Linked DNA regions of Homo sapiens: regions 2, 3 and 4 are each linked to region 1. The links are contacts of gene promoters, found by promoter capture Hi-C in blood cells and fetal thymus (Javierre and others, 2016). All regions are on one chromosome and are shown on one strand. The core of a region is centred on a gene start or on the middle of the fragment in contact, and the rest is flanking DNA. Distances in the headings are between cores, read along the strand shown. Region 1 holds the start of TNFSF12 (TNF superfamily member 12). Region 2 has its middle 8.6 kb from the start of SLC16A11. Region 3 holds the start of ASGR2 (asialoglycoprotein receptor 2). Region 4 overlaps LOC105371512 (a long non-coding RNA gene).

Evidence for each region. Contacts are between HindIII fragments. The CHiCAGO score rates a contact against its expected background, and 5 or more counts as called.
Region 2: a fragment that was not itself captured here is called in contact with the fragment with the promoter of TNFSF12 in region 1 in 3 of 17 cell types (monocytes, M2 macrophages and total B cells); the score reaches 5.4 in monocytes.
Region 3: the fragment with the promoter of ASGR2 here is called in contact with the fragment with the promoter of TNFSF12 in region 1 in 1 of 17 cell types (monocytes); the score reaches 5.5 in monocytes.
Region 4: a fragment that was not itself captured here is called in contact with the fragment with the promoter of TNFSF12 in region 1 in 1 of 17 cell types (monocytes); the score reaches 5.9 in monocytes.

The regions. Positions count from the first base shown.
Region 1 is chr17:7,547,550-7,555,274 of GRCh38, forward strand. TNFSF12 (TNF superfamily member 12) reads left to right here and starts at 1,509. Exons shown (of 7, transcript NM_003809.3): 1 at 1,509-1,763; 2 at 1,925-1,972; 3 at 2,571-2,646; 4 at 3,250-3,303; 5 at 3,394-3,429. The coding sequence starts at 1,605. It overlaps TNFSF12-TNFSF13 (TNFSF12-TNFSF13 readthrough), which reads left to right and starts at 1,509. Exons shown (of 11, transcript NM_172089.4): 1 at 1,509-1,763; 2 at 1,925-1,972; 3 at 2,571-2,646; 4 at 3,250-3,303; 5 at 3,394-3,429. The coding sequence starts at 1,605. RefSeq lists silencers at 1,404-1,593, 1,624-1,703 and an enhancer at 7,342-7,725. The HindIII fragment of the contact is 9,939 bases long and covers 1-6,415 here.
Region 2 is chr17:7,048,873-7,056,597 of GRCh38, forward strand. No RefSeq gene overlaps it. Among named protein-coding and RNA genes, the nearest start is that of SLC16A11, 8.6 kb to the left of the region's middle. The HindIII fragment of the contact is 959 bases long and covers 5,367-6,325 here.
Region 3 is chr17:7,113,440-7,121,164 of GRCh38, forward strand. It overlaps ASGR2 (asialoglycoprotein receptor 2), which reads right to left and starts at 1,383. Exons shown (of 9, transcript NM_001201352.2): 1 at 1,176-1,383; 2 at 678-871. The coding sequence starts at 801. RefSeq lists an enhancer at 1,535-2,321. The HindIII fragment of the contact is 6,715 bases long and covers 1-1,792 here.
Region 4 is chr17:7,135,199-7,142,923 of GRCh38, forward strand. It overlaps LOC105371512 (a long non-coding RNA gene), which reads left to right. Exons shown (of 3, transcript XR_934191.3): 2 at 2,040-2,600; 3 at 5,480-5,565. It overlaps LOC124903910 (a long non-coding RNA gene), which reads right to left and starts at 7,426. Exons shown (of 2, transcript XR_007065600.1): 1 at 7,277-7,426; 2 at 7,051-7,245. It also overlaps the pseudogene RPL7AP64. The HindIII fragment of the contact is 812 bases long and covers 4,516-5,327 here.

The DNA of each region.
Region 1 (7,725 bases), core at 259-2,758:
TCTTTTTTTTTTTTTTTTTTTTGACAGGGTCTTACTCTGTTGCTCGTGTTGGAATGCAGTGGTGTGATCACAGCTCACTGCAGCCTCAACCTCCCAGGCTCAGGTGATCCTCCCATCTCAACCTCCTGAGTAGCTGGGACTACAGGCATGCACCACCATGCCCAGCTCTATGGATGCTTTTTCTTGACTCTCTTTAAGTATATTAGGTAGTACTCTTTGTATCCTGAATTATCTCTGTTTCCTCCAATGTCAAATTTTGTTTGTTAATTTTGGTCTTTCTTTCTTTTTTTTTTTTTTTGAGATAGGGTCTTGCTGTGTTGCCCAGGCTGGAGTGTGGTGGCGTGATCTCAGCTCTCTGCAACCTCTGTCTCCTGGGTTCAAGCAATTCTCTGCCTCAGCTTCCCGAGTAGCTGGGAACTACAGGCGCCTGCCACCACGTCCGGCTAATTTTTTTGTATTTTTATTAGAGACAGGGTTTCACCATCTTGGCCAGGCAGGTCTCGATCTCCTGACCTCGTGATCCACCCGCCTCAGCCTCCCAAAGTGCTGCGATTACAGGCGTGAACCATCGCGCCCAGCCAATTTTGGTCCTTCCTTCCTTCCTTCCTTCCTTCCTTCCTTCCTTCCTTCCTTCCCTCCTTCCCTCCCTCCCTCCCTCCCTCCTTTCTTTCTTTCTTCCTTTCTTTCTTTCTTTTTGAGACAAGGTCTGTTGCCCAGGCTGGAGTGTAGTGGTGCAATCACAGCTCACTGCAGCCTCAAACTCCTGGGCTCAAACAATCCTCCTACCTCGGCCTCCTGAGTAGCTGGGACTACAGGCGTGGGCTAATTTTTTAAAACTTTTCTGTAGAGATGGGGTCTTGCTCTTGCCCAGGCTGATCTTGAACTCCTGGCCCCCAGCCTTGGCCTTCTGGGATTACAGGCGTAAGCCACCTGCCGGACCAATTTTGGTGTTTCTTTTGCATGCTGCTGGTCCTCCTCAGATGCTTGGCAATCATTGGTAATGATGGGCTTCAGAACGTGCTACCGGCACAGTGAGTGTTTTAAGCTGAAGGAATTTGAGAAAACCGCAGAAGCCGAAGGATCTTTCTTACCTTCTCCTGCCCTTCTTCCCTGAACCAGGTCATACAACCTGGAACTCCCTGCCCTTTTCCTGAAGAAGCAAATAACAGCCTCCTGCGAGAGGCGCCCTCCCTGCACCTGGGGGAAAGGAGGGTCCTTATCTCTGAAGACACAGGGACACAGAAGAATCTGAACCAACAGGCCTTCCTGAGTTCCCCACCTCCCCGCAGGAGGTGCCCGCACACGCATAGCCCCGTCGCTCCCGCGGCCGCACGCAACGGACCTCGCCCTGGTGGTGCACGCCCGGGCTGGGCGCTCAGAGGTCGGGTGGGCGCCCACTCCGTTCGCTGCGCGCACAGCGCCCGGCGAGAGGCTCGGAGTTTGATCACACACAGCGTCCGGCTTCCTGTCCCCAGCGCCCCCTCCCGCCCCGTTTCCCTTGCCCCTCCCTCTCCCCGGCCCGATCCGCCCGCCGGCTCCCCCTCCCCCGATCCCTCGGGTCCCGGGATGGGGGGGCGGTGAGGCAGGCACAGCCCCCCGCCCCCATGGCCGCCCGTCGGAGCCAGAGGCGGAGGGGGCGCCGGGGGGAGCCGGGCACCGCCCTGCTGGTCCCGCTCGCGCTGGGCCTGGGCCTGGCGCTGGCCTGCCTCGGCCTCCTGCTGGCCGTGGTCAGTTTGGGGAGCCGGGCATCGCTGTCCGCCCAGGTGAGGCCCCGCTGCGCACCCCTTCTTGGGCACATCAGGAGCTGAGACTGCAGAGGGGCCGCTGGGGGCCGCGTGGGCTGAAGGCAAGGGGAAGGGAGGATGGGTGGAGGGTGAGATGTCAGGTGGAGCGGCACAGGGTGACGCTCCCTCCTTCCCAGCAGGAGCCTGCCCAGGAGGAGCTGGTGGCAGAGGAGGACCAGGACCCGTCGGTGAGTGGGCGTGGGCGCGGTCTGCAGGCTGCTGGGGCATGGGAAGTGTGCACAGCCGAGGCTGCAGGTGTGTGCAGCTGTGCCAGCCGTACTCGAGGTGTGTGCAGGGTGTGTGTGAACACAGTGCGTGCATGGGTGCGTGTCTGCAGGGGTGTGTGTGCGTGGTGACAACTCTGTGTGAGGGGTTTGTGCTGGGGTTGTGCCACCTGAGTCTGAGGTGTTTATTGGCTGGGGGTGACGTGGTTGTATAAGATATGTGAGTCTGCGTGGAAGAGGGGTGCGGTTGTGTACAGGGTGTGTATCCTCTGTGCGTGGTGACTGGGTGCGGGCATGTGTGCAATGTGCCAATTGAATGCAGGGTCTGCGTTGGTTGTGTGTGTGGGTGGGAAAGTGTAGCTGGTCTAGAGGAAAGGGTGAGGACTGGGGCCTGACTCCCAGCTTCACCTTTGCCCGGGGCCCCAGCTGTAGTTGGCTGAGGGGCTTAATCTGTCCCTGACTTCTGTGTCTATTGCTGGCTGGTGGCTCTCCTGACAGGCCCCGTATGTCTCACTTTATATCTCTGGGAGTCTGTGGTTGAACCCTGCCCTAATTCCCCTAGGAACTGAATCCCCAGACAGAAGAAAGCCAGGATCCTGCGCCTTTCCTGAACCGACTAGTTCGGCCTCGCAGAAGTGGTGAGCATCCCTCTATCCCAACCTCAGGAAGCGGGCAGAGCAAAAACCATTATCCACAGGGAGAAACTGAGGCACGGAGGGTGAAAGGAGTTCAGAGTCATGCAGCTAACCAGCCAAGACTCAAACCTAGGGATTCTCGCCCTCCTCTGAAGCTCCTTCTGTCATATGGATGTGCTCCTTCAGACCCTACCCCAAACAGGAAGGCAGGGTGGCCATGAGTTAGAAGAACTACTGGGATCCTGATGGAGACTAGGCCTGGCAGTCAGAGGCCTGGGCCCCGGTAGGCAAAGAGACTTAGGAATGGGATGATGGGGTGGCCGGATGACCACGTGTCCAAGTCGGCATGCAGTTGTCCTGGCCCCCACCTGTTATCTCGGTGTGATTAATAGCAGCTTCCCGTTTTGCTCTCAGCAGTATCCCAGTGTGGATGACAAATTATAGTCACTCTACTTACTGAGGAAGATGAGGCCTGAGATTCTAAGGCCAGGAGTCTGGACAAGAATAAGGATGCCAGGGTTCCTGAGAGGGGAATGGGGCTGGGAGAGTTGCTCTGGGACCCCCACTAGGGCCCGCTTTGCTCATCTGTCTTTCCTTGATCCTCAGCACCTAAAGGCCGGAAAACACGGGCTCGAAGAGCGATCGCAGCCCATTATGAAGGTGGGTGATGGGTGAGCCATACCCAGGAGGAGAGGGGCAGGTGGCAGAGGGTCAGGGCAGGTCTCACCAGCCTTTTCCTGTACTTTACAGTTCATCCACGACCTGGACAGGACGGAGCGCAGGCAGGTGAGACCCCATCCCCCGACACAGCACTGGCCTCCTGGGAAAAGGGCCCTTGAAAACCTTTGACCTCCCACTCCCTTCCCGGCCATCAGTCTCAGAACCACAGAAGCCAGTTCATGAAGGTCTTGGTTCTCTCTGTGACCCAGGCGTGGGACCCCATGAAAGACCCCTACTCTTCCCCAGAACTCTGCCCAGTTCCCCCAGCAAATCACTGTCCCAGCTCTCTCCTTCAGCCCTCATTCTTCTCCAAGAAGCACTTTTCATTCTTTTTTCTTCTGTCTCCTCCATATTCCACGTTCTGATGATCTTTTTCTCTAAATGCTGCTAGTGTCTGCTCATCTTTTCCATTTCTACCCCACCCTCTACCTCAGCACCGTGACCTCAGAACCTCAAATCCAGCCTCTTGCTGCTTCCCCACTCCACACCCTCCCTACCCCTCCACTCCATCTGACCTGTGCTGCCATGCTGAGCCCCTAAACTTCACTTTTCTTGTGGTATTGGCTCTCTACATGGCTTCCAGTCTCTTCGTGGTCTGGTCTCAACCTAATTTCCCTGCACTCTTATGCTGTCTTCATGTTTGCTGCGCTGACACCCCTGCTCCCGGTGTGCCTCTTCTGGACTTTGCACATACCATCCCCCTCACCAGAATGTCTTTCCACTGTGAGAGGCAGGGAGGCATGAGGAGTGCTCAGCCGAGGGGTTCACAGCAGAGATGGTGAGAAGTGGATGGGTTCAGCCTGTGTCCTGAAGATATTACTGACTTATGGGTTGGAGGTGAAGAATAAAAGAAAGGGAGGAATCACAGATGACTTCTAGATTTTTTATTTTTTTTAAGACAGTCTCGCTCTGTCACCCAGGCTGGAGTGCAGTGGTGCAATCTCGGCTTACTGCAACCTCTGCCTCCCAGGTTCAAGAGATTCCCGTCTCAGCCTTCCAAGTAGCTGGGATTACAGGCGTGTGCCACCACGCCTGGCTAATTTTTGTATTTTTAGTAGAGATGGGGTTTTGCCATGTTTTCCAGGCTGGTCTCAAACTCTTGACCTCCAGTGATCTGCCCGCCTCGGCCTACCAAAGTGCTGGGATTACAGGCATGAGCCACTGCACCCAGCCAGCTTCTAGATTTTTAACTTGGGTATCTCTGGGAAGAATGATGCCATTTCCTAAGAAGGGATTGACCAAGGAATAAATAGGTTGGGAAGTATGTAAGATAATTATTAACGTTGAGAAGTCTAAAATAAACAAGCGGATAAATGACAATAAAGTAAATTCCAGAAATGGATGGCTGGACATTGTCGACTAGCTTAGGCTAGGTCAGGACGGATAAAGCCAGGAGTCATGGCCATATGGATGGCTTTTTTTTTTTTTTTTTTGAGACAGAGTCTCGCTCTGTCACCCAGGCTGGAGTGCAGTGGTTCGATCTTGGCTCACTGCAACATCTGCCTCCTGGGTCCAAGCGATTCTCCTGTCTCAGCCTCCCAAGTAGCTGAGATTATAGGCGGGTGCCACCACACCCAGCTCATTTTTGTATTTTTTAGTAGAGACAGGGTTTCACCGTGTTGGCCAGGCTGGTCTTGAACTCCTGATCTCAGGTGATCCGCCAGCCTCAGCCTCCCAAAGTGCTGGGATTACAGGTGTGAGCCCTTGTGCCCGGCCTATCGATGGCATTTAAAGCCACAGGATTGGGTGAGACGCCAGGAGAAAGAAGGGCCCCACGAATGAAGCCCTGAGACTCTTGGGCATCTTGAAGTGGAGCTGAGGGGAAAACCAGCAGAGACTGAAAAGAAGCTGGAGAGAGAGGAAGAAACCCAGGGAGGGTGGCATCCTGGATTCGGAGAAACCACTGTTTCAAGGAGGATGTGGCTGTCTGTGTTGAATGCAGCTGAGAGATCACATGAAATGAGAACAGAGAAATGATGGCTGGGTTTGGTAACGTGAAAGTCCTGCTGACCTTAAAGAGGGTGGTTTCAGTGGCATAGTTAGAACAGGAAGGCAGTGTGCATTGGGTTGAGAAGAAAATGAGAAATAAGGAACTGGAGGCAGGGACAACCTTTTTTTTTTTTTTTTTTTTTTTTTTTTTTTTTTTTTTTGTGACAGAGTTTCACTCTTGTCACCCAGGCTGGATCCAGTGCAATGGCACGATCTCGGCTGACCGTAACCTCCACCTCCCGGGTTCAAGCAATTCTCCTGCCTCAGCCTCCCCAGTAGCTGAGATTACAGGCATGCGCCACCACGCCTGGCTAATTTTGTATTTTTAGTAGAGACAGGGTTTCTCCATGTTGGTCAGGCTGGTCTCAAACTCCCGACCTCAGGTGTTCCACCCGCTTCGGCCTCCCAAAGTGCTGGGATTACAAGCATGAGCCACTGCACCCGGCCTAGGACAACCCTTTTTAGAAGTTTCTCTGTAACAAGGAGCAGAGAAATAGGCCAGTAGGTGGAGGGGTGTGTGGACCAAGGAAAAGTTTAGTTCTGTGAACAATACTATTTTCATCTGATCTAACATGTACTGAGGGCTTTCTTGAGATAGGCACTGTGTCTGGCACTTGTGTTTGGTCTTATCTAATCCTCACAACAGCCCTAAAAGGAAGATACTCTAATTACCTCCATTTTACAGATGGAGGTTACACAACTTGTCTGAGGCCATGAGATACTAAGTGGTGGAGCCAAGATTTGAACCCAGCTAGAATGTGCCTGTGTACTGGACATGGTCTGCATGAAAGGCGAGGTGGCTGGTGCAGGGGTGAGGGGTCCATGCAGGGGCCACATCCAAAAAGGGGAGAGGGAAGTTTCCAGAAAGAAGAGAGGACACATCTCCCACCATTACCAGAGGGTCAAAGGAGAACAAGAGACCAGGTGGGTTTGTAGATTTGCTGGGGGGAGATGAGGGAACCTTTGCTCGATGACTTCTAGGTCCTCTGGACAACTAGGGAGATGGAGACAGGAGATTTGAGGAGAAATGGTACAAAATCTCAACTTGCTGATTATGAAAGCAAGCTTCGTGGGGGAATGTAAGATTGCCAGGCAGGACGGAATGTCCAGGTGAGGTTTGTGGCTGGAGACAAGTGATATACCAGGCAAGCCCTCCGTGCTCCTGGGCACACCATGCCCTTAGGCTACAAGCAGCCTTTGCTTAGGCTGGCTTCGTAGCTAGGAATGCCCTCTCTTCTCTGCCCTCCCTACTCTTCATGCCCAGATCAGCCTTCCTCCCCTCTGTATAGACCACTTATTTTGGCAATTATCCAGACATTCATTCATTCATTGACTCAACAGGCATTGAAGACCTACTGTTTGCTAGGGGCCAGGCTAGGTGCCCACAGCAACTAATATCCAGACTCTTTTTTTTTTTTTTTTTTTTTTTTGAGATGGAGTCTCACTCTGTCGCCCAGGCTGGAGTGTAGTGGCGCGATCTCGGCTTACTGCAAGCTCCGCCTCCTGGGTTCATGCCATTCTCCTGCCTCAGCCTCCCAAGTAGCTGGGACTACAGGCGCCCGCCACCACGCCTGGCTAATTTTTTTTTATTTTTTAGTAGAGACGGGGTTTCACCGTGTTAGCCAGGATGGTCTCGATCTCCTGACCTCGTGATCCACCCAACTCGGCCTCCCAAAGTGCTGGGATTACAGGCGTGAGCCACCGCGCCCAGCCGGTCAGACCCATTTTTTTTTTTGAGATGGAGTTTTGCTCTTGTTGCCCCAGCTGGAGTGCAGTGGCGCCATCTCGGCTCACTGCAGCCTTCTCGGGTTCAAGTGATTCTCCTGCCTCAGTCTCCCGAGTAGCTGGGACTACAGGCGCCTGCCACCACGCCTGGCTAATTTTTTTTTTATGTTTTAGTAGAGACGGGGTTTCACCGTGTTAGCCAGGAGCGTCTCGATCTCCTGACCTCGTGATCCACCCACCTTGGCCTCCCAAGGTGCTGGGATTACAGGCGTGAGCCACTGTGCCCAGCCTCAGACCAACTCTTAAGGAGTCACTGTCTAGGAGAGGAAACAAGCATATAAATTTGTAATTACAGGAACATACAAAAAAAATTAGCCAGGTTTGGTGGCACATGCCTGTAATCCCAGCTACTCAGGAGGCTGAAGCATGAGAATCACTTGAACCCGGGAGGCGGAGGCTGCAGTGAGCCGAGATTGTGCCACTGCACTCCAGCCTGGGTGACAAGAGTGAGACTCCATCTCAAAAAAAAATTTGTAATTACAGTGGAATATGACAAGAACAATAATAAAAGTGGCCAAGATACCTGGCAACACAGGGGAAGACAGACATGGCTGTGGAGTCAGGGATTCTCTCCCTGCATCGCAAGGT
Region 2 (7,725 bases), core at 4,596-7,095, 490 kb before region 1:
AAATATTTATAGACAGCTACCGCGTGCCAGCTGCTATGCTTAGGGTTCGGGATACAAATGTGAATAAGATATAGTCTCTCCCCTCCCAGCCCCACAATCAAATCAGAGGATCATCACATAAAGAAAAGAATTCTCAGCACAAGGACGGGGACACATACACCGTAGAGTGGTGCATGGGAAGAACTGACTCATTCCTCTTAGGACTGCTGGGAGGCTTCACAGAAGAGGAGCCCCTTGGGCTGGGTCTTGAAGGATGAGTAGGAGTTTGCCAGATGGATCTGTGGGCAGGGGCGTTCCAGGCAAAGGAAGCAGCTTGTGGAAAATCACAAAGGCATGAACCAGCTTGGCACATTGTTTATTGTTTGGGGAGCTATAAATAGCCGCTGTGTGGAGAACCGAGCATGTGTAGGAGGATAATGTAGGATTAAGCTGCTGGGCAGAGGGTCCCGTCTGAAAGGCCTTGAAGGCCAGGCTAAGGATATTCCTCCAGAGGCTGATACTACTCCAAAATGTCCAATGAAGTAGCACTCACTAATACTCACTAATAATGGAAGCTGAATACAGAGGAGAGATGAGTCATGCCACAATCAGAGGCGCAAGGAGAGTTCGCCTTTTGCATGTGGGAAATTTCTTTGAAATATCTTGTTTTATGTTAAAAATTCATGCAGAATTTTTCATTCTACTTTTTTTGTTTGTTTGTTTGTTTTTGTTTTGTTTTGTTTTGTTTTTGAGACCGAGTCTCTCTCTGTTGCCCAGGCTGGAGTGCAGTGGCACAATCTCGGCTCACTGCAAGCTCGGCCTCCCGGGTTCAGGCCATTCTCCTGCCTCAGCCTCCCGAGTAGCTGGGACTACAGGCACCCACCACCACGCCCGGCTAATTTTTTGTATTTTTAGTAGAGACGGGGTTTCACTGTGTTAGCCAGGATGGTCTCGATCTCCTAACCTCGTGATCTGCCCGCCTCGGCCTCCCAAAGTGCTGGGATTACAGGCGTGAGCCACTGTGCCCAGCCCGATTTCTGGAATTCTCACACACAAAGATGCCAAAGGTGAGTGATGAATCACTGAATGAGAGAAACATTGAACAAAGGAGTCATTGAATGAGTGGACTCCGTGCCTGGTGCTCCACAGAATGCAGCAGTGGTACAGGAAAGAGTCGCAGATGGACCAAACCACGAAGGCCTGCCCATGTGGGGACAGCCCTCAAAGCAGATGCTGAGCTAGATGAAGTCTATAGGGAGATCGTAAAAGAGTGTCAAGCATGGCACATCATTTGCTTTGGGGACCACAGGATCTGGGAATGCGTCCATGTTTGCAAACTCTAAAACTGCTCTGGGGCTTTTTCATGGGAACTCCTGCCGGAGGTTCTCGGGGCCTCTGGAGTCTGCAGCCTCAGGGAAGCCCTGAACTAAGCCCCTCTATTTCCCAGCACCCCCACCAAGGGGCTCCCGCTGCAGAAGGTGGACAGGGAGGGAGGCGGGCAGGCAAGAGTGAGTGGCGTTACCCACAGGAAACATTCCTCTATTTGGGGTGCTCAGAAATATGAGGCTCTACACTGCTTGGCTCAGCTGATCTTGGGTTGTTTTTTGAGACTGATTTTCACTCTTGTTGCCCAGGCTGGAATGCAATGGCATGATCTCGGCTCACCACAATCTCAGCCTCCCGGGTTCAAGCGATTCTCCTGCCTCAGCCTCCCAAGTAGCTGGGATTACAGGCATGTGCCACCACGCCTGACTAATTTTGTATTTTTAGTAGAGATGGGGTTTCTCCATGTTGGTCAGGCTGGTCTCGAACTCCCAACCTCCAGTGATCCGCCTGCCTCAGCCTCCCAAATTGCTGGGATTACAGGCATGAGCCACTGCGCCTGGCCTGGGTTTCTAAGACCTAATAGAGCTGCCTCTCACCCCTCACCCCCCAGAATGCCCTCTTCCCTGGATCACCCAGAGACCAGGCCGTGGAAAGTCAGCGTAGATCTAAAGCCCACACCAGGGCCTGGAAAAGTGGGAGAAGCACACGACCTGCAGAGGGGATAAGGACACAAAGGTCAGGGTTTGTGGCTCAGGGCCAGGTAGCACGTCGCTGAGATGCTCTGAAATGGGGAGTGGGTCATTGAAGCAGGAGGCCAGGGGCTCCTTGTGTATCGGGAACAAGTCTGCTTGGACGACCATATCAACTGGAAGAAGGGAGATGGAGCCGAGTCTCCTGAGCCTTCCTTGTGTGGGGACTGAGACTGCGGTAGGACTTTGCTGAGTCTGAGGCTGTGGGGAAGCTGGTAATAGGGTTGAGGGGGCACAGATGAGACAGAGCTAAGGCTGGAGCTGGATTGGAGCCAAGGCCTTGGATGGGCTGGGAATCCTACCTCACATTACTCTTCTTTCTTTCTCTTTCTTTCTTTCTTTCTTTTTTTGAGACAGAGTCTCACTCTGTCACCCAGGTTGGAGTGCAGTGGCATGATCTCGGCTCACTGCAACCTCCACCTCCCAGGTTCAAGCAATTCTCCTGCCTCAGCCTCCCAAGTAGCTGGGATTATAAGAGCTCACCACCACGTCCGGCTAATTTTTGTGTTTACATTACTCCTTTCTTATACCCTCTACCAAATCTGTCTCCAGTGCCTTTTCCAATCCAGGCCTCATCCCTTCCCTCTGTCGTCACCATCCCCTTCCCACCCTATTACATGTTGGGGGTCTGGAGGACCTGATTCCTGGGTCTCTCTGGACAGCCCAGAATCCAGGACAGGGGATCAGGGACAGTAGGGGAAAGTGCCCAGCTAAAGGCTCTGCACCTGGTCTGTGTCTAAATCTCCAAACGTGTTTTATTTTGTTTTGTTTTGTTTTTTTGAGACGGAGTCTCGCTCTGTTGCCCAGGCTGGAGTGCAATGGTGTGATCTTGGCTCACTGCAACCTCTGCCTCCCGGGTTCAAGTGATTCTCCTTCCTCAGCCTCCCAAGTAGCTGGGATTACAGGTGCCCGCCACCATGCCTGGCTAATTTTTGTATTTTTAGTAGAGATGGGGTTTCACCATGTTGGCCAGGCTGGTCTCAAACTCCTGACCTCAGGTGGTCCGCCCACCTCAGCCTCCCAAAGTGTTAGGATTACAGGCGTGAGCCACCGTGCCCAGCCTAAATGTGTCTTACCTGGCATATTCTATTAACAGTCTGGGACTTTGGCCAACATCTGTATCAAAGTTGTGAGTCGTAAGCCATGGGCACTAACTCTGACTTATTTAAGGAAAGAAATGATTTATTACAGGATACTGCGTAGTTCACAAAATCACCAAGAAACCTACAGAGCCAAGATTGGCAGAAGCAGAGGCCACGAGCCTATAATGGGTTGCTAAAGCCGCTGTTATCACCACAGGACACTAGATGTCGCTGCTGGCAGCCCTCTGTGACCACTGGGCCTGGAAACAGCTGCTGCTCCTCGGACGTGTTCTCTGCTTCTGGGCCCTCAAATCTAAGTCCAGTGATCCTGACCACCGGAACCTAGGCCACGTGCTTTCATCCTAGCTGGAAGGGGTGGCAGGAAGAGTGAGAACCTAGTGCTTTCAGTGTCTATAGACAGATGGGTTCTGCCTCCCTTCAAAAATAATAAGGTGGGCCTGGGCACGCGGTGGCTCACGCCTGTAATCCCAGCACTTTGGGAGGCCGAGGCAGGTGGATCACCTGAGGTCAGGAGTTTGAGACCAGCCTGGCCAATATCGCAAAACCCCACCTCTACTAAAAGTACAAAAATTATCCAAATGTGGTGGCACGCATCTGTAATCCCAGCTACTTGGGAGGCTGAGGTGGGAGAATCGCTTGAACCAGGGAGGCAGAGGTTGCAGTGAGCTGAGATCGCGCCACTGCATTCCAGCCTGGATGATGGGGTGAGACTCCATCTCAAAAAAAAAACTAATAATAATAAGGTGGAAATTTTCTTAAAGGCTTCAGATGCAAGAAGGCCAAAAATATCCTAAAACTGTGTAAGCCCAACTAAAATGGATTATTAGAATAGGAATGAGAATCCAATCGGACCTGGTGATTTTTTTTTTTTTTTTTTTTTTTTTTTGAGATGGAGTCTCCTCTGTCGCCCAGGCTGGAGTGCAGTGGCACGATCTCGGCTTACCACAACCTCCGCCTCCCGGGTTCCAGCGATTCTCCTGCCTCAGCCTCCTGAGTAGCTGCGACTACAGGCACCCGCCACCATGCCCGGCTAATTTTTGTATTTTTAGTAGAGACGGGGTTTCACCATATTGGCCAGGCTGGTCTCGAACTCCTGACCTCGTGATCCACCCACCTCGGCCTCCCAAAGTGCTGGGATTACAGGCATGAGCCACTGTGCCCAGCCAGACCTGGTGAGTTATTAAAAGCACAGTCCCTGAGTTCCGACTCCCACCATTTCCAGGCATCTATAAAAAGGGGGCAATGCTTCAAAGGATTGTTGGTGAGACTTCAGTGAAGTAAAGCTTGGGAAGGACCCAGCACAACTCCAGGCACAGGGCAGGCGTCCTACAAATGTAGGTTCCCATCCATTTCATTCCATCCCATTTTCTAGCCACCGGTAGCCACCCTTTCATCTCTACGCCAGTCCAATTCTACTCCAAGTCACTATGCCCCTCCTGTCTGGATTTGTGAGGGGCAGTCAGACCAGAAGGGGCCAGAAGGTGATATTTGTCATCTCCCTGCTGCTATACCAACCTCTCAGCTACCTGAGTTTTTTGGGTCCCTTTGTCTGCCTTCCCAGCCTCAGCCTGAGACCTGGGCATCTGACTTGAAGGATGCAGGCTCTTAGTGGACATGGTAACCCACATCAGCCCTTAGGGCTGCAGCAGCCCTGCCTGGCCAGAGTCTCTACCTCCCCAAGGAATATCAACCAGGACCAGAAGCCAAGGCAGGAGGGGACAGGAGGTCAGATAACAGGTTTTCTGCAGGGATGTAAATTACACATCTTGGAGGATCTGACATATGCAAGGCAGAGTTTTGGGGGCCCAGTAAGCAAATGGTGCCTGTTTTCTTGCCCCAAGGCAGAAATGCCTTTGTGAACACTGGGAGGAGTCGCGTGGGGGCTAAGCCCTGAGAAAGTCCCAAAGTCATAGAAGGGCCCAGACGCTGAAGAGGCTGCAACTGGCTGCAGTGGATGCCACACAAGCCTCTTCCTGTCCTTGTGCAGGTGGATCTTGTCCCTCCCAGTGCGTTCCTTTCTGTACCTCTTGTTGGCCATGAATCTCCTTTGCCCCTGCCCACATCTCCATGCCATTTCCTCTGCAAAGCTTTCTCCTGCCTCTCCCCTACTGTCAAAACGTTTTAAATGCTGGGCAGCATCTCTTCTTTAGGGTTCCTTCCCTCTATCCCATTCAAAGAGCCATACCCAGCTTTAGCTACCTCCATCTCAAGCTTTCATCCTATCTTTCTCTCCTCCATTCACAATCAGGAGTCCCTTGCAATGAGACCGATTCTGGTTTAAAACACATTTGTGAGGGACGGGTGTCATGGTCTCACCTGGAGGGAAATCACACCTGCACAGGCCTACAGAGAGGTGAGGCGGGGCCTCGGGCATCTCATCAACTGGGTACGTAGAAAGAGGACTCTGATTTTTTTTTTTTTAGATGGAGTCTCATTCTGTCACCCAGGCTGGAGTGCAGTGGCGCAATCTCTGCTCACTGCAACCTCCGCCTCCCAGGTTCAAGCAATTCGCCTGCCTCAGCCTCCCGAGTAGCTGGGATTACAGGCACATGCCGCCATGCCCGGCTAATTTTTTGTATTTTAGTAGAGACAGGGATTCACCGTGTTACCCAGGCTGGTGGTGAACTCCCAAGCTCAGGTAATCCACCTGCCTCGGCCTCCCAAAGTGCTGGGATTACAGGCTTAAGCCACCATGCCCGGCCGAGCACCCTGATTTATGGGTAATCAGCTTCCCCTTCCCTGGGCCCAGGGATCTGGGAGATAGGAAGTTGATGCCACCGCCCCAAGAGCTGATGTTTCAGGACTGTGGCCAGTGAGTGCTGAACACAGTGAGCAGCAGAGTGGGCTGACACCTGAGCTCCAGGACTCATAAAGCCCCGCTGTTCTTGCATGGCATGTGGTTTCTGGGTTTATTTCCCTGTTGTCCTTGAGGAGAGTATATTTATTCCCTAAGTATGCAGGGCTTAGGGCTAAAAGCATTCCCCATGCTTACAGAAATGCTAGGGATATGAAAAAGTGTACCGATTTCCAAATACAAAAGGCAAACTTAAAAATCTAAAGTAATGAATATTAAAGCGTTTTTAAAAATGTCTACAAAACATAATATTAGTCCATTTCTTTGTTAAATTTCATGTTCCTAAATTTTCATTACATTGGAAAACAATTTGAAGCTTTTTTTCACTTTGCAGGATTTCCTAAATGTTTATCGTGATTGCTGAGAAATCAGAGCCAATCATAGATTCACTGAGTTTCTTATAGACAAACAATCCTTTAAAAGAATAAACGTCCTTTTAAGATTTTAAACGGCAAAAAATCTTAGAAATCTTTTAAATTTTTGGGCCGGGCACGGTGGCTCACGCTTGTAATCCCAGCACTTTGGGAGGCCGAGGTGGGCGGATCACGAGGTCAGGAGATCGAGACCATCCTGGCTAACAGGGTGAAACCCCATCTCCACTAAAAACACAAAAAAATTAGCCGGGTGTAGTGGCGGGCACCTGTAGTCCCAGCTACTCGGGAGGATGAGGCAGGAGAACGGAGTGAACCCAGGAGGCGGAGCTTGCAGTGAGCAGGGATCGCACCACTGCACTCCAGCCTGGGCGACAGAACAAGACTCCGTCTCAAAAAAAAAAAAAAGAAATCTTTTAAATTTTTAATTGTAAAAATATATTTAGTGTGGAATGTGAGTGTATTTTAGTATATGTTATTAAGAGGCAACATAACATGGTGGGACAAACACGAACCCTGGAACCAGATTGTCTGGGTTCAAGCCCTGGCTTTGGTACTTACTGGCTATATAACCTAGAGCAAGTTATTCAACCTCTCTTTGCAATAGTTCCCTCATCCCCAAAGCAAATTATAATAGTTCCTACTTTTGAGGAAAAAAAAGATGGTAATTGCTATGATCTTAATGTTTGTGCCTCTCCCCGTCAAATTCATATGTTGAAATCTAATCCCAGGCCGGGTCCGGTGGCTCACGCCTGTAATCCCAACACTTTGGGAGGCCGAGGTGGGCGGATCACCTGAGATCAGGAGTTCGAGATCAGCCTGACCAACATGGAGATACTCTGTCTCTACTAAAAATACAAAAAAATTAGCCGGGCACGGTGGCACATGCCTGTAATCCCAGCTACTCGGGAGGCTGAGGCAGGAGAATTGCTTAAACCTGGGAGGCGGAGGTTGTGGTGAGCCGAGATCATGCCATTGCACTCCAGCCTGGGCAACAAGAGCGAAACTCCATCTCAAAAAAAAAAAAAAAAAATCTAGTCCCCAATGCGAAGTATTAAGAGGTGGGTCCTTTAGGAGGTGACTGAGGCCTTCATGAGGATGAAGACCTTGTGAATGAGATTGAGTGCCCTTATGAAAGAGGCCTGAGGCAGCCTGTCCACTCCTTCTGCCCTGTGAGGACACAGCTAGAAGGTGCCATCTATGAGAGCAAGCCCTTACCAAACACCAAATCTTCTGGCTTCCCAGCTTCCAGAAATGTGAGCAATAAATTTCTGTGGTTTTTGTTTGTTTTTCAGAGATGCGTCTCACTTTGTTGCCCAGACTGCTCCTGGCCTCAAGCAGTT
Region 3 (7,725 bases), core at 133-2,632, 430 kb before region 1:
ACTCACACAACACACAAACATACATACACTCACACAATACACACACACAACACACACACAACATACACAACGTACACACACACAACATACACACACTCATACACAACATACATACACACAACATACACACAACATACACACACTCACATACACAACATACACTCGCACAACATACACACATGCACAAGATACACACACAACACACAACATACACTCACACACAAGATACACACAACATATACTCACACAACATACACACACAACACACTCTCACACACAACATACCCTCTCACATACACGACATACACACACACAACATATGCACGCTCTCGCGCACATATACACACACACAACATTCACTCACACACACACACAGAGTCCCAGCTGAATCTGCATTCCTCATATGCACATACGTGCACACGCACATACGAGGCACATGTGTTCTTGGGTTGGGAGGAGAAGGGCAGGCAGTTATCTTCCAGATCTCCCCACACCTCTGGCACATGCCTTTCCTGGGGTCCTGGGGTAGACAGGAAGGTGAGGTGAGGGAACAAGCGGGGGTGTCGGGCCCTCCTCAGTCCCTGTTCACAGAGTGGGTGCGGCAGAGACCTCAAAGGGACAGAGCAATCATGAGCTGAGACAGAGGGGGAGCAAAGCCGCAGAAACTGCACACTTGCCTTTCAAAAATGGATTTCCTCTCCTGGGATTCAGCCTGCGAGTGCCTGGCCCCTCACCTTGATGGAAAGGATGGTCATTTTCCTCCGAGCTCAGCTGCTGGATATCTTGAAAGTCCTTGGCCATGATGGGGCCCGGGCTGGAGCTGGAGCTGGAGCTGGGCTGGGCTGGGCTGAGGTTGCTCTGAGGGCTGGGGCTGGGGCAGAGGTGCAGATTCACGTGGAGGTTGATGGTGGGATGGAACGCAGGGTCGGAGGGGTTCGGGGTGGTGGCCTGGGTAGGATCTGAGGTTGGCAGGGCGTTTGGGATGAGGTTTGAAATCCCGCTGGGTCCTTTCCCTTCTCAGGAGACCGCTTGGGCCTTGACCTGGCCAGGAGACCCCTCCCCACGCTCATGGACCCGACCACCCACAGCTTCCCATGGGGTCCTCCCCATCCCTGAACCAAGGCCTCCTTGTTCCCAAGCATCCTCGTCCCAGTTGCCTCCCCAGCCTCAGTTACCTGTGAAAGGTGTGGAGAGCGGACACCTGGCTCCCGCAGGCAACCCTGGCCTTGGCCAAGGAGGGGTTAAAGCCAGGAGAACTGGGGCAGGTGGAGCTCACAGGGGAGAGGAGAGTGGAGGAGGGGCTGGTCCGGGCAAGGCCTGCACTGGAGGGTCTGAGTGTCCAAGCTCTAACCTGGCACCTCCTGGCCTGGGACTTTGGACAGTAAACAGAAGAGGAAACAGAGCTGTAACTCATTTGTGGGGTGGGGGCAGGGGACGGGGCTATCTCTGTTCTTATTCCCAGAGAGGGGGGTCCCCTGGGCTGCGCTCAACTCCACACGCCACTCACCCCACTCATTGCACCATTTGGAAGGGGTGCCAGGCCAGGAGGGGCTGGGGTGCAGTTTGCCGTTTCCCTCTCTCCCTCCCCCTCTCACTTCCTGCCTCCGAATTTACCAGAACTGTGGGTGTCTCCAAATATCCCTGACCAGGATCACAGCGACCAGTTCTCTACTCTTGCCCAATCCGGCATCTGAACCACAGACCCCAGCTTCCTGTGGGCTCGGCCACCAGACTCTCAGCTCTGGCCCAACTCGCTTCACTCTCCTGGAGAGTAAAGCCTCTCAAATCCAGAAGCTTCAGCAGGAGGAGGAAGGGGCTTTGCAGAAAAACAGCTCTCCTCGCAGGAGGAATCCAACCTCAGAGAGCCCCGTCCGGCCCAGACCCTGCCCCAGCCCAGGCAACACAAACACTGTCCTCAGGCCCAGCCACTGCCCTAAATTCTCCAAGGTGTTTCTTCATTTATCACAGCACAACACCCCCACGAGGCAGGACTTCTGTTACTCCCATTTCACAGGGTTCGGAAGCGGAGCCTCGGAGAGATGAGGCAACTTGCTCTAGGTGGTGGCCCAGGTGAGTAGAGAAACTGGCAAAGCAAAATGGAGTAAAGAGGGGAAAATAACATCATAACAAAAGGTCTGGCCGGGCACGGTGGCTCACGCCTGTAATCCCAGCATTTTGGGAAGCCGACGTGGGTGGATCACCTGAGGTCAGGAGTTCGAGACCAGCCTGGCCAACATGGTGAAACTCTGTCTCTACTAAAATACAAAAATTAGCCGGGCGTGGTGGCAGGGGCCTGTAATCCCAGCTACTCAGGACGCTGAGGCAGGAGAATCGATTGAACCTGGGAGGCGGAGGTTGCATTAGCCAAGATTGCGCCATTGCACTCCAGCCTGGGCAACAAGAGAGAAACTCCATCTCAAAGAAAAAAAAAAGAAAGAAAGAAAAAGAAAAGAAAAGGTCTTCATGGTCCTACGAGGAAGACTGGCTTCCATGAAGCAAGGAACGTGGCTGACTGTCTACACTTGCGCTAACAATAGCTCGGGAAAGAAAACACAGTTTTTGTGCATGATTTTCTGACCCTCACCAAACTTGGGCGGATGGCTACGGGCAGGGTTTCTTATAAAGCTGCTCGTTTCCCCGGGTGCCGAAAAGGAATTCAAACAGAGGCCTTTTCTGTTCTTGTAACTTGCTGACCCACATGGGAAGTAGCCACCCCCCCAGTACCCTGACATTCCCACCCAGCCACCAGGCAGCAGCAGCCGCTGGGCTCTCTGACTGCAGCCCACAGCGAGAGACGAATTTCATGCTGTGATCCAGAACATACACACAAGCACCCGCACACACAGGTGCATTTGTATGTGTTACTTTCTCCTGGATCCCCAGTGCCTGCCACACAGTAGCTGCTCAACAAGTATCTACTGAGTGAGTGAGTGAATAGAATAATGCGTTTGGAAATACACGGTTGACACTAAAGTTTGATGGGACAATGCTCACCTTACTACGTGCCTTCTGTTGAGTTTCCCAGTCCATTAATGGGTCACAACTCAAAGTCTGAACAACACTGCTGTGAAGCCCCCATCTTAAGGGGCATGTGGATTTAGTCCTGAGATACAGGTAAGAGCTTCACAGATGGATTGTCTACTGCATGTCAAGCTTTGCCAACTGCCAACCAGGGATGGGGCCATCCTCATTGGCCACCCCTTTGACTGAACCAATTCCACGTTTCAGGGCTTGTCACTTACACCCCCACTCACGGCACTACAGGGAGAGAAGGGACAGAGAAAGCCAGACTCATCTGCGTCCTTCTCTTTCTCCCTATTTGAAAATCATTTTAACTTAGAAGTTAACATGTACTTGGACTATTTCTGAAGTTTCCATATTGTTGGAGGTTTTCTGTTTTGGGTTATGGAATCCTATTTTCTTTGATTGATTTTTTTTTTTTTTTTTTTTGAGACAGAGTTTCACTCTTGTCACCCAGGCTGGAATGCAATGGCGCGATCTCAGCTCACTGCAACCTCCACCTCCCGGGTTCAAGTGATTCTCCTGCCTCAGCCTCCTGAGTAGCTGGGATTACAGGCATGCACCACCACGCCCGGCTAATTATTTGTATTTTCACCATGTTGGCCAGGCTGGTCTTGAACTCCTGACCTCAGGTGATCCGCCCATCTCAAACTCCCAAAGTGCTGGGATTATAGGCGTGAGCCATCGCGCCCGGCCTTATTTGGTTGATTTTGATTTGGGGTTTATTTGTACCTCAGACACAAAGGTTAGATTGGTCATATTCCTTACTTCATGACACTAGGTCTTCCTCAGAGGTCTGAGCTAAACCTTTGTCCTGTTTCGTTCTTCCCTAGCTCCCATCCTGTTTCCCCTCACTAATTCTATACTCTCTACTCTCTATAGGCAGCCAGAAGTCTGAGTGCCCTGACAGTCCCCACAGATGGTGCCCATCAATTTCTCCCCTCACCACATGTGCAAGTCACACCACTCAGCCAGGGGTAGAGTCTGTTTCCCCTCCCCTTGAGTCTGGGCTGGCCCTGTGACTTGCCTTGACCAACAGAAAGCACTAGAAATGACACTCTGCCAGTTCTGGGCCTGGACCTCAAGAAACCTGGTAGCTTCAGTTTTCAATCTTGGAAGTCAGTCACCATGCTATGAGGAAGTCCAACTATCCTGCCAGAGAGAGTCCTGGGGGATAAGACAGCACATGGAGAGAGAAAGAGGCCACACAGAGGTGCACTGAGGCCCCAGACATGTGAGCAAAGTCTTCTGGGAGTTTCCAGGGCAGCCCAGTCACCAGCTGATTGTATCCAAGTGTTTCACTCCAACCAATACCCCGTGGACCGCCCAGCCTAGCCCTGCCCAAATTTCTGACCCAGAGAATCTTAAGAAAAAACAGTTGGTTTAAGCCACTGGAGCTTTGGGGTGGTTTATTATGCATCGGTAGATAGCTGAAACAATATATATTACTAAATATGTAGGTACCCTTATAAAATATGTGATGGGGTTTGCATGTCTATCTGTTCTGTATTTACATACACAGAACTTTCATATATCTCATTTGTTTCTGATCTTTTTCACTCAACAAGAAATTTTTTAGAGCTATTTGTATTGCTATTTGTTACAATGGATTGTTACATTGCTATTTGTTTATCTGGTTTGTTGCTATGAACTGCTGCACAGTATTCAATGGTGTGTATCCATCACAGTTTATTTCCCCTAATAATGAACTCAGGTTGTTGCCAACAACTATCACAATTAACATGACGACTGATGTCCTCATCGTGTTCCCATGTGGACCTAGGTGAGAATTTCTCTTGAAACTGTATCCAGGCCAGGTATGGTGGCTCAGGCCTGTAATCCCAACACCTTGGGAAGCTGGAGTTGGGAGGATCACTTGAGGCCAGGAGTTCAAGGCTGCAGTGAACTATGATCGCACCACAGCATTCCAGCCTGGGCAACAGCAAGACCCTTTCTCAAAAAAAAAAAAAAAAAAAAAAAAGGAATGAAAGAAAAGAAAAGAGAAACGAAGGAAAGGAGGGAGGAAGGAAGGAAGGAAGGAAGGAAGGAAGGAAGGAAGGAAGGAAGGAAGGAAGGAAGGAAGGAAACTATATCCCCGAATGGTATTGCTCATTCGCAGAGTATTGCCATACCTAATTCCACTCAGGACTGCCAGACTGTTTTCCAGAATGGCTCTGCCAGTTCACACTCCCACCAGCAGTATACGAGGGTTCTCTTTTTGGCTTTGTCGCTTGATATTATTAACATCGCAATTGTTGCCAAGCTGATGCCATATCCTTGTTCTTTTATTTTGCATTTCTGGCTAACAGTGGGTTTGAACATTTCTTCATCGATTTATTAATCATTTGGGTTTCCTCCTGCATGAATTGCCTTTTCATATCCTTTACCAGTTTTTCTATTGGCTTTCCTGAATTCACTTTGTTGATAAGCCAGAATTTCCTGTATGTTCTACTTGTTCAGAAAACGAGACCTTTTGAAAGTTAAAAAATATATACATGTTGTTAACTCCAGAAAAATTAATAGAAGCTCTGAAACATAAAATTTAGAAAATCTTCCAGGAAAAAAAAAAGACATAGGTTTTTTTTTTTTAAATGATAAAAGTTAAATTGGGAGAAATTATTTTTTCTCTGGTCTCATGCTACTGAATATATTTCCCACTAGGGAAACTAGACAATCTCCAGACTCCCTTTCTCTCTTTTTTTTCTTTCTTTCTTTTTTTTTTTGAGACAGAGTTTCCTTCTTGTTGCCCAGGCTAGAGTGCGGTGGCCGCGATCTCGGCTCACTGCAACCTCCGCCTCCCGGGTTCAAGTGATTCTTCTGCCTCAGCCGCCTGAGTAGCTGGGATTACAGGCACTCACCACCACACCCAGCTAATTTTTGTATTTTTAGCAGAGATGGGGTTTCACCATGTTGGCCAGGCTCGTCTCGAACTCCTGACCTCAAGTGATCCGCACGCTTCGGCCTCCCAAAGCGCTGGGATTACAGGCATGAGCCACCGCGCCCCGCCCAGACTCCCCTTCTTAACCCACTCTTCCTCAGGGGAGGAAACTGACTGATTGGCATGCTTGGCTCCGCCCCTTGGGGGGGCTCCCTTTGGTGTCTTTCTGCCCACAAGAAGCACACCTTGTATTCTACTCTCTGCCAGGCGGCACAGAGCTGCTCCTGCTTTGCCCTCCTCTGCCTGTGACTGGGTGGATACATCTGCTTAATTATTGGATGAACTAATTACAAGGTTTTTTGATCTAAGGTTTTAAGTCAAATCCTCCTTGTTGCTTATCAGTAATTATGCTAACATTTTGATATCCGCTCATCTGTCTACTGTGTCTTGGCTCTCAATTGATTTCAAACTTAAGAGGAAAAGATAGGGTTCTTTTTTTTATTAGCCCCATAAAACCTCCCCAAATAACACAAACAATATGTTCAAAGAACCAACATCCAATTAATAGAAGTTCTAGAAGATAAATAAGAGGAAGAAAAGGAAGAAAAAGATGAAAGAAAGAATACAAGGCTGGTACTTAGAATTAAAAAGGATAAGTCTCCAGATTTAGGTATTCTAGTAATAGCCCAGCCGAGCACATTCATTCAAAAATGACCCAAAGCGTGTCACCATGAAATTTCAGAATACCAGGGATAAACAGAAAATTCCAAAAACTACCAGGGGTGGGAGTAAATCACCTACAAAGAAACAAGAATCAGAATGGATTTCATTTTTCAGCTGTTATATTGAACACGAAGAGACAACAGGATGATGCCTTCAAACTTCCAAGGAAAATTTTTTTCAACCTAGAATTGTAGACTCAAATGATCCATGGCACGAGAGGGGAGGCTACAGAACTGTCAGATATTCCAGTTCTCAGACTATTTATCTCCTACTCCCATGTGAGGAATTACCCCAGAAAGTGAGGAAATTATCCAAAAACAACACATGTAGAAGAACATCTCAGTATAAGCCTTTTTCATTATTAGGAAAGAAAATCTTATTCAGCTTTTTCTGTATTTTTTGCCTACAGGCTGACTTTTTTTCTTATAATGCAAACTGGTGAAATTCCAGAACCTGGCCTTGGAAATGCAAGTCACCATAAAGAACATGAGTTTAAGGTCTGGGCATGGTGGCTCTCGCCTGTAATCCCAGCACTTTGGGAGGCCAAGGCGGGCAGATCACCTGAGGTGGGGAATTCAAGATCAGCCTGACCAACATGGAGAAATCCTGTCTCTACTAAAAATACAAAATTAGCTGGGTGTGGTGGTGGGTGCCTGTAATCCCAGCTACTCAGGAAGCTGAGCCAGGAGAATCGCTTGAACCCGGGAGGCAGAGGTTGCGGTGAGCCAAGATTGCGCCATTGCACTCCAGCTTGGGCAACAAGAGCGAAACTCGGTCTTTAAAAAAAAAAAAAAGAACATGAGTTTAAGGAAGCAGTAGAGACTCTCCTATGATAAGCCGTCAAAGTGAGAACGTTTACTAACTCCCCATCTTGTTCTCTCATGTACTGTGGAAACCTAGGTGGGCACTTATAATTCCTGCTGACTTTCGGCCGGGCGTGGTGGCTCACGCCTGTAATCCCAACACTTTGGGAGGCAGAGGTGGGCGGATCACGAGGTCAGGAGATCGAGACCATCCTGGCTAACACGGTGAAACCCTGACTCTACTAGAAATACCAAAAATTAGCCAGGCGTGGTAGCGGGTGTCTGTAGTCCCAGCTACTC
Region 4 (7,725 bases), core at 3,672-6,171, 410 kb before region 1:
ATGTCACAAAATTACACTTGTTTCCCATAAATTTATAAAAATAAATAAAGCTGGGCCGGGTGCCGTGGCTCACGCCTGTAATCCCAGCACTTTGGGAGGTTGAGGTGGGTGGATCGCCTGAGGTCAAGAGTTCGAGATCAGCCTGGCCAACATGGCGAAACCCCATCTCCACTAAAAATACAAAAAAAAAAAATTAGCCGGGCACGGTGGCGGGCGCCTGTAATTCCAGCTACTCAGAAGGCTGAGGCAGGAGAATCGCTTGAACCCGGGAGGTGGAGGTTGCAGTGAGCCGAGATTGCGCCATTGCGCTCCAGCCAGGGCAACAAGAGCGAGACGCGGATCTTTTGAGCCCAGGAGTTCAAGGCTGCAGTGAGCCATGATTGAGGCACTGCATTCCAGCCTGGGCGACAGAGCCAGGCTCATCTCAAAAACTAAAAATAAAGAAATTCTGACACATGCTACACCATGGATAAACCTTGAAGACATTATGCTGAGTGAAATAACCCAGTCACACAGGGACAAATATTGCATAATCCCACTACCTAAGGTAGTCAGATTCATAGAGACAAAAAGTAGAATGGTGTGGTCGCCAGGGGGAGGGGTTGGTGGGCGGGGAATGGGGAGTTGCTGTTCCATGGATTTAGAGTCTCAGTTTCACAAGATGAAAAGAGTTCTGGCCGGGCGCGGTGGCTCACGCCGGTAATCCCAGCACTTTGGGAGGCCGAGGAGGGCGGATCACGAGATCAAGAAATCCAGACCATCCTTCCTGGCCAACATGGTGAAACCACGTCTCTACTAAAAATACAAAAATTAGCTGGGCGTGGTGGCGGGCGCCTGTAGTCCCAGCTACTCAGGAGGCTGAGGCAGGAGAATCGCTTGAACCCAGGAAGCGGAGGTTGCAGTGAGCCGAGATCACACCACTGCACTCCAGCCTGGCGACAAAGCGAGATTCTCTCTCCAAAAAAAAAAAAAAAAAGATGAAAAGAGTTCCATGGATGGTTGCACAGCAATGAATGTGCCGCGTGCAACAGAAACGCATACTTAAAAACGGTTAAATTTTATGTGGTGTGTATTTTACCACAATTTTTTATGTAAAAGGCAAAGTTTTAAAAATTACTGCAATCAGTATTAAACCTCATTTCATATTTCTAGTTTACTCTTTCGCCCTTAGGAAGTTGGGTTTTTTTCTTTTTTCTCTTATGTTCCCAACATCAGGATAGCAGCGCCACCGTGTGGTCACAGCTGCAGGTGCCAGTCTGAAAGAAGAGAGACTCCCCTGCACCCCAACTATTTTTTAATACAGGTTGAGCGACCCTAATCCCAAAATCCAAAATCCGAAAGGCACCAAAATCCAAAATTTTCTGAGCCACAAGTGGAAAATGTCACACCTGACCTCATGTGACAGGTTTCAGTCAAAATGCCATCGAAACTGTTTCATGCACAAAATCATTTAAGATAATATATAAAATTACCTTCATAGCCTGGACAACATAGCAAGACCCTGTCTCTACAAAAAATTTAAAAATTAGCCAGGACTGGTGTTGCACGCCTGTACTCCCAACGACTCGGGAGGCTGAGGCAGGAAGATCACTTGAGGTCAATCAATCTGCATTATACTTCTAAGTAGCTGAAGTGAAACATTAAACAGTAAAGAGATCATTCTTACATAGCTAAGAGTATTCAATTATTCAGCTCCTGAGAACTATTTGGCTACACTTACTTATTATCTTTCTTTTGCCAACTGGTAAGACATCCTAGCCTGAATCACAAAAACACTTTCTGGTTCACATCTTAGAGTCGAAAAAGGCTTGCGAAGCCCCTAAAGGTGTTGAGGCAGCTTGGCCTGAGACCGTGATAGCTTCTGTTTCATCCCCAGATCTATTACATGGAGTTCAGAAACCAGGACGATTGCATTTATAAGCCCCAAATTTAAAAGATTATTTGAAAAAGAGCTTCTTGAGTTTTACTCTTGATACACTAAATGCAATCCACAGCCTCTCTGCCCTAACAGACTTTCGTGTTCCTTCCCTCTTTTATAGTAAAATTAGGAAGTGGGGAGACGGGACAAGTAAGTAAGGGAATCTGCACAGGCTGAGCAACCCCACCCTCAGCCTTGCTGAGTTCTCTCCACCCAGAGGACACTGTACTCCTGCTCTGGGAAGACAGCGCCTCCCGCCAGGGGATTCCGCCAACCACCGCTCCCTGCAATCGGGGTTACCAGTGATGATTCTTCCCCCAGCATCACCCTACGGTGTCTTGGCAGCCTGCCTCCTTCACAGACTGCCTCGAGAGTCCCTCAGAGCTATTTCCTTAAAGACCAAATGCGAGCATATCTTCACTGACGGGGTTTCAGAGCCTCACTTTGCAAGTTTTGAGGCAGAGGCTCAAACTAATTTTGCTGAGAAGGACAGGAGAGCTGAGAGAAAATCAAACAGAACGGCGGCTCTCCTCCCATTCATGGCATGTAATGCTCTGGGCCCAGCTACATCTGCCATGGCCTCCAGGGACCTGCTGGAGGGGTCTCCCAGCCCCACCTGGTATAAGCCAAGCCTGCTCCAGACTCAGGATCTGCCCAGAGGGCTGGGATCTCACAGCCTGAGGTAAGCATGAGTCAGTCTGAATGTAATCTACCCTCCCTACACCCCTTCCCAGCCCCAGCCTCTCTGAGGGGTCTCATAGCCACCCAGCCTGCCTGTGACCTTTGCTGGCTATAGCTTTTCTTCCCATTAACTTTTTTTGTTTTGTTTTTGAGATGGAGTTTCACTCTGTCGCCCAGGCTGGAGTGCAATGGCGCGATGTTGGCTCACTGTAATCTCTGCTTTCCAAGTGCAAGCAGTTCTTCCCCCTCAGCCTTCCAAGTAGCTGGGACCACAGGCACCCACCACCATGCCCGGCTAATTTTGGTGTTTTTAGTAGAGACAGAGTTTCACCACGTTGGCCAGGCTGGTCTCGAACTCCTGACCTCAGGTGATGCGCCCGCTTCGACCTCCCAAAGTGCTGGGATTACAGGCGTGAGCCACCATGCCCGGCCCCCATTAACTTTTAATAATAAAACATGGTGGCCAGGCGCGGTGGCTCACGCCTGTAATCCCAGCACTTTGGGAGGCTGAGGTGGGCAGATCACGAAGTCAGCAGATGGAGACCATCCAGGCTAACACGGTGAAACACCCCGTCTCTACTAAAAATACAAAAAAATTAGCCGGGCGTGGTGGCGGACGCCGGTAGTCCCAGCTACTCCGGAGGCCGAGACAGGAGAATGGTGTGCACCTGAGAGGCGGAGCTTGTGGTGAGCCGAGATTGCACCGCTGCACTCCAGCCTGGGCGACAGAGCAATACTTCATCTCAAATAATAAAATAATAATAATAATAATAAAAACATGCTGCCTGATTACAGGAACTTAAACTTGTTTTGTTTACCCAAGCTGACATGTAAAAGTTACTAATAACTTCTTTGTCTAGGCAAGTTAGCAAATGACTTTGTAAGCACTGAGCAGCTCCCCTTAACTGTTTAAGTGGGAAGCCAGCCGTCGCCTACCCCAGGCAGGGGAGGCAGGACTTCTCCAGTGGCTCAGGGGAGACTGCCCTTCTTTGCCAGTTTTGGTTTGCAGACAGGTCACTGAAAGGTGGGGCCAAAAAGCTTCTGTGAAGCAAAGAAATTTGAGACCCTAGTCCCTTTCTTTTGGAGATCTAATGTCCTTAGAACCTCTGTGATGAACAGAGGCTCTAGCTGAAGTCCACTGACGGGGAAAGGCACCAAAGGGCCCGAGGGAAGCCCATCATGACTGAAGAGGAAATAGAACAAGTGACCCTGTGTCTTAGTCAGCTTGCACTGCCATTGCAAAACACCACGGACTGAATGGCTTAAACAAAAAAAAAACATTTCTTTCTCACAGTTCTGGAGGCTAGGAAGCCCAAGGTGAAGGTACCGGCAGATCCAGTGTCTGGGGAGGGCTCACTTCCTGGTTTACAGACAGCCACCTTCTTGCTGTGTCCTCACGTGGATGAGAGAGCACACTCTGGCCTCCTTCTCTTCCAACAAGGGCACAAATCCTATCGTGGGGACCCCACCCTCACAACCTCATCTAAATGTAATTATCTCCCAAAGGCCCCACCTCCAAATATCATCACACTGTGGAGTAGGGCTTCCACCTATGAATCCGGGGTGGGGAGGACAGAAACATTCAGTCCCTAGAATCCTGTATCAGTGCTAAGGCCTGGTAGGGTTTGTGAGGGAAGCCGCGTTTGGCACAGGCTGAAGGTGCCCCCTCACCAGATAGAGGCTGAGAAGATGTGCTTTGAGGACCTCTGCTGAGCAGGGCTATGAACTGAAGTGTTTTTTCCTCTGGAGCCCGAGGACACGGTGCAGTTGCTCAGCAGCACTAAGGAGGGACTGGGTGTGCCCTGAGCAAGCTGTCATTGGGGGTTAAAGACTGAAACTGTCACAGCCTAGGTGCCTAGTGGCTTCCGGGACAGAGCTAAGCAGGGCACAACAGGGGTAGACGGTCTGTTCCATTAAGCTTTTGAAGCTCGTTGTCTGAGGTAATACCCAAGGTTCATCGTCTCATGCCAAGGAAATTGAGGATGCAGGCACACACGACGAGTGAGTTTAAGAGCAGAGGTTTAATAGGCAAGAGAAAGAAAAGCTCTCTCTCCTGCAGAGAGGGAGGGGCTCCCAAGTCGGTCTTCTGGCTCCGAGGTGAAATGCACTGGGTGTTATAGGTGAGCTTGAGGAGGCAGTGTCTGATTTGGAGGTTTTGCCTTGTTTTGTTTTGTTTTGTTTTTGAGACAGAGTTTCGCTCTTGTTGCCCAGGCTGGAGTGCAGTGGCACGATCTCGGCTCACCGCAACCTCTGCCTCCCAGGTTCAAGGGATTCTCCTGCCTCAGCCTCCCGAGTAGCTGGAATTACAGGCATGCACACCACGCCCGGCTAATTTTTGTATTTTTAGTAGAGACGGGGTTTCACCATGTTGGTCAGGCTGGTCTCAAACTCCTGACATCAGGTGATCCACCCGGCTCAGCCTCCCAAAGTGCTGGGATTATAGGCGAGAGCCGCCGCACCCACCCGGCCAGGCAGTGTCTGATTTACACAGAGCCCAAAAGATTGCGGGACCAGGTATGCCATTTACATAGTGCAAGAAGAAGCTGGCCGCCCCACCCTAATCTTTTATTATGCAAATGGATTCTCTACCTGGTTGGCATCATGTTGCTGCTTCCTTTACTGTACAGGTGGTTGATAAGGAAAAGGGAAGATGAAGCCTCCATGTTGAACATGCCTGGCCCCAGGTAGCCTTTTCCGATTGGCACGGCTGCCGCCATTCACCCGTTCAAGCTTCCAGCTTGCCTGTCAATGTCTGCAGCTCGATTTTACAGGCTGCTCTTTGTTAGAAAAGAAATGATGTGGGGGCTGCTTTTTGTTAAAAGGGATGCCTTACCGAGGACTCTCTTACCCTCACCAACTGCCTAAGTAATTTCTTTTTAGCTCCCGTATTACTGCATCAAACTATAGCCAGATCCACGGTGACTACAGCGCAGCCACGGCAGGGGTGGCCTCTGGCTGAGCGGGACTTGTTTGCAGCAGCAGCATCTGGTGGCAATCGCAGAAATAAGAAGGCAGTCGAGGCCGGGCACAGTGGCTCATTGCTCATTGCTTGAACCCAGCAGGCAGAGGTTGAAGTGAGCCAAGATCGCGCCACCGCACTCCAGCCTGGGCAACAGAGTGAGACTCCGTCTCAAAAAAAAAAAAAAAAAAAAAAGAATTTCGGCATTTGAGAAAAGGCTTAAGAATCTGGCATTGAACAGGCTATCCAGCCCAAAAGGGACCTCACCTGCTTTGTTGATTGTTGAATGGCCCAACTACATCTGGTTGCAGTGGCAAACGGCTGACCTCCACGAGCAGCTGAAAGTGCCTCCTGCAAGTGACCGACTCATCCAGGCCTTGGACCGAGAAAACAGCTCCTCAACTGCATCAGCTGGACCATGGTACAGACCAGAGACAGGGCAAGAAAAGAAGCAGAGGCTATTGGCCCGTGCAGAGAAGAAAGCTGCCGGCAAAGGGGGCATCTCCATGAAGACCCCAACTGTCCCACGAGCAGGGTTAACCCCGACAGCACCTTGGTGGAGAACAAGAAGCCTCAGCTGGTGGTGACTGCACGTGACTCTCGTCGAGCTTGCTGTCTCTCTGTCTGCGCTGTGTCCTACAGTGGGGTTCCCTTACTGCGTTATCCAGGGGAAGGCAGGACGGAGATGCCTGGTCTGCAGGAAGACCCCAGAAAAGACTGTCACCTTCACACAGGCTCACTGGGAAGACAAAGCAGCTCTGGCTAAGGTGGCGGAAGCTATCAGGACCGATTACAATGGCAGGTGTGACGAGATCCACAGTCACTGGGGAGGCAATGGAACCTCCTTTGCAAAAATTATAACTGAGGAAATTATGACAGTGAAAGAAATCAGACCTAACCGACTCCATCTTGCGTCTAACCTTTAAGCTGTCCTTGTCCATTCCTCGGCGTGGGCTGAACAAACTTCGGGGAGGAATTCAGCTCGTGGTTTGACTCTGAAACAAAATTGATAATAGCCCTTAACCGAAAAGACTCTTCTTGCCTGGGGACCAGTCTGCCTTTGCAAGACTAACAGATTAGCTACGAGATCAGAAATTGTAGTTTAGGGGTCATGCAGACTCTGACTCTAAGAGTCGGAACTTCCCCACATTGCTCCTGGGAATAACATCACTATTGTAAAACCTAAGATCAGTACTTGAGATACTTTTCAGACCCTGCACTCGATAGATCAGCTGACACCACCCAGACTCATAATCTGACCTAACCAGTTCTGCCACCGCACCCAGGAACAGAAGACAGCAAGAAAATCTCACTTTGATCTCCTATGATTCCGTCTCCAACCTGACCAGTCAGCGCTCCTCACTTCCCAAGCCCCTATCCGCCAAATTATCTTTAAAAACTCTGATCTCTGAATGCTGGGAGACTGATTTGAGAAATAGTAAAACTCTGGGCCGTGTCACGTGCGTCCGAGTGAAGAGCCCACCGAACAGGCTTTGTGTGAGCAACAAGGCTATTTATTTCACCTGCGTGCAGGCGGGCTGAGTCCGAAAAGAGAGTCAGCAAAGAGTGGTGGGATTATCACTAGCTCTTACAGGTGTTGGGATAGGCGGTGGAGTTAGGAGCAATGTTTTGCAGGCAGGGAGTGGATCTCACAAAGTATACATGGGTGGGGAGAATTACAAAGAACCTTCTTAAGGTTGTGGGAGATTACAAAGAACCTTCTTAAGGTTGTGGGAGATTACAAAGAACCTTCTTAAGGTTGGGAGAGATTGCAAAGCACATTGATCAGTCAGGGTGGGGCAGAAACAAATCACAATGGTGGAATGTCATCAGTTAAGGCTATTTTCACTTTTTTTGTGGATCTTCAGTTGCTTCAGGCCACCTGGATGTATACGTGCAGGTCACAGGGGATGTGATGCCTTAGCTTGGGCTCAGAGGCCTGACAGGCCGCGCGTGGTGGTTCACGCCTGTAATCACAGCCCTTTGGGAGGCTGAGATGGGGGGATTACGAGGTCAAGAGATCGAGACCATCCTGGCCAACATGGTGAAACCCCGTCTCTACTAAAAATACAAAAATTAGCTGGGCATGGTGGCACGCGCCTGTAGTCCCAGCCACTCAAGAGGCTGAGGCAGGAGAATCTCTTGAACCTGGGAGTTGGAGGCTGCA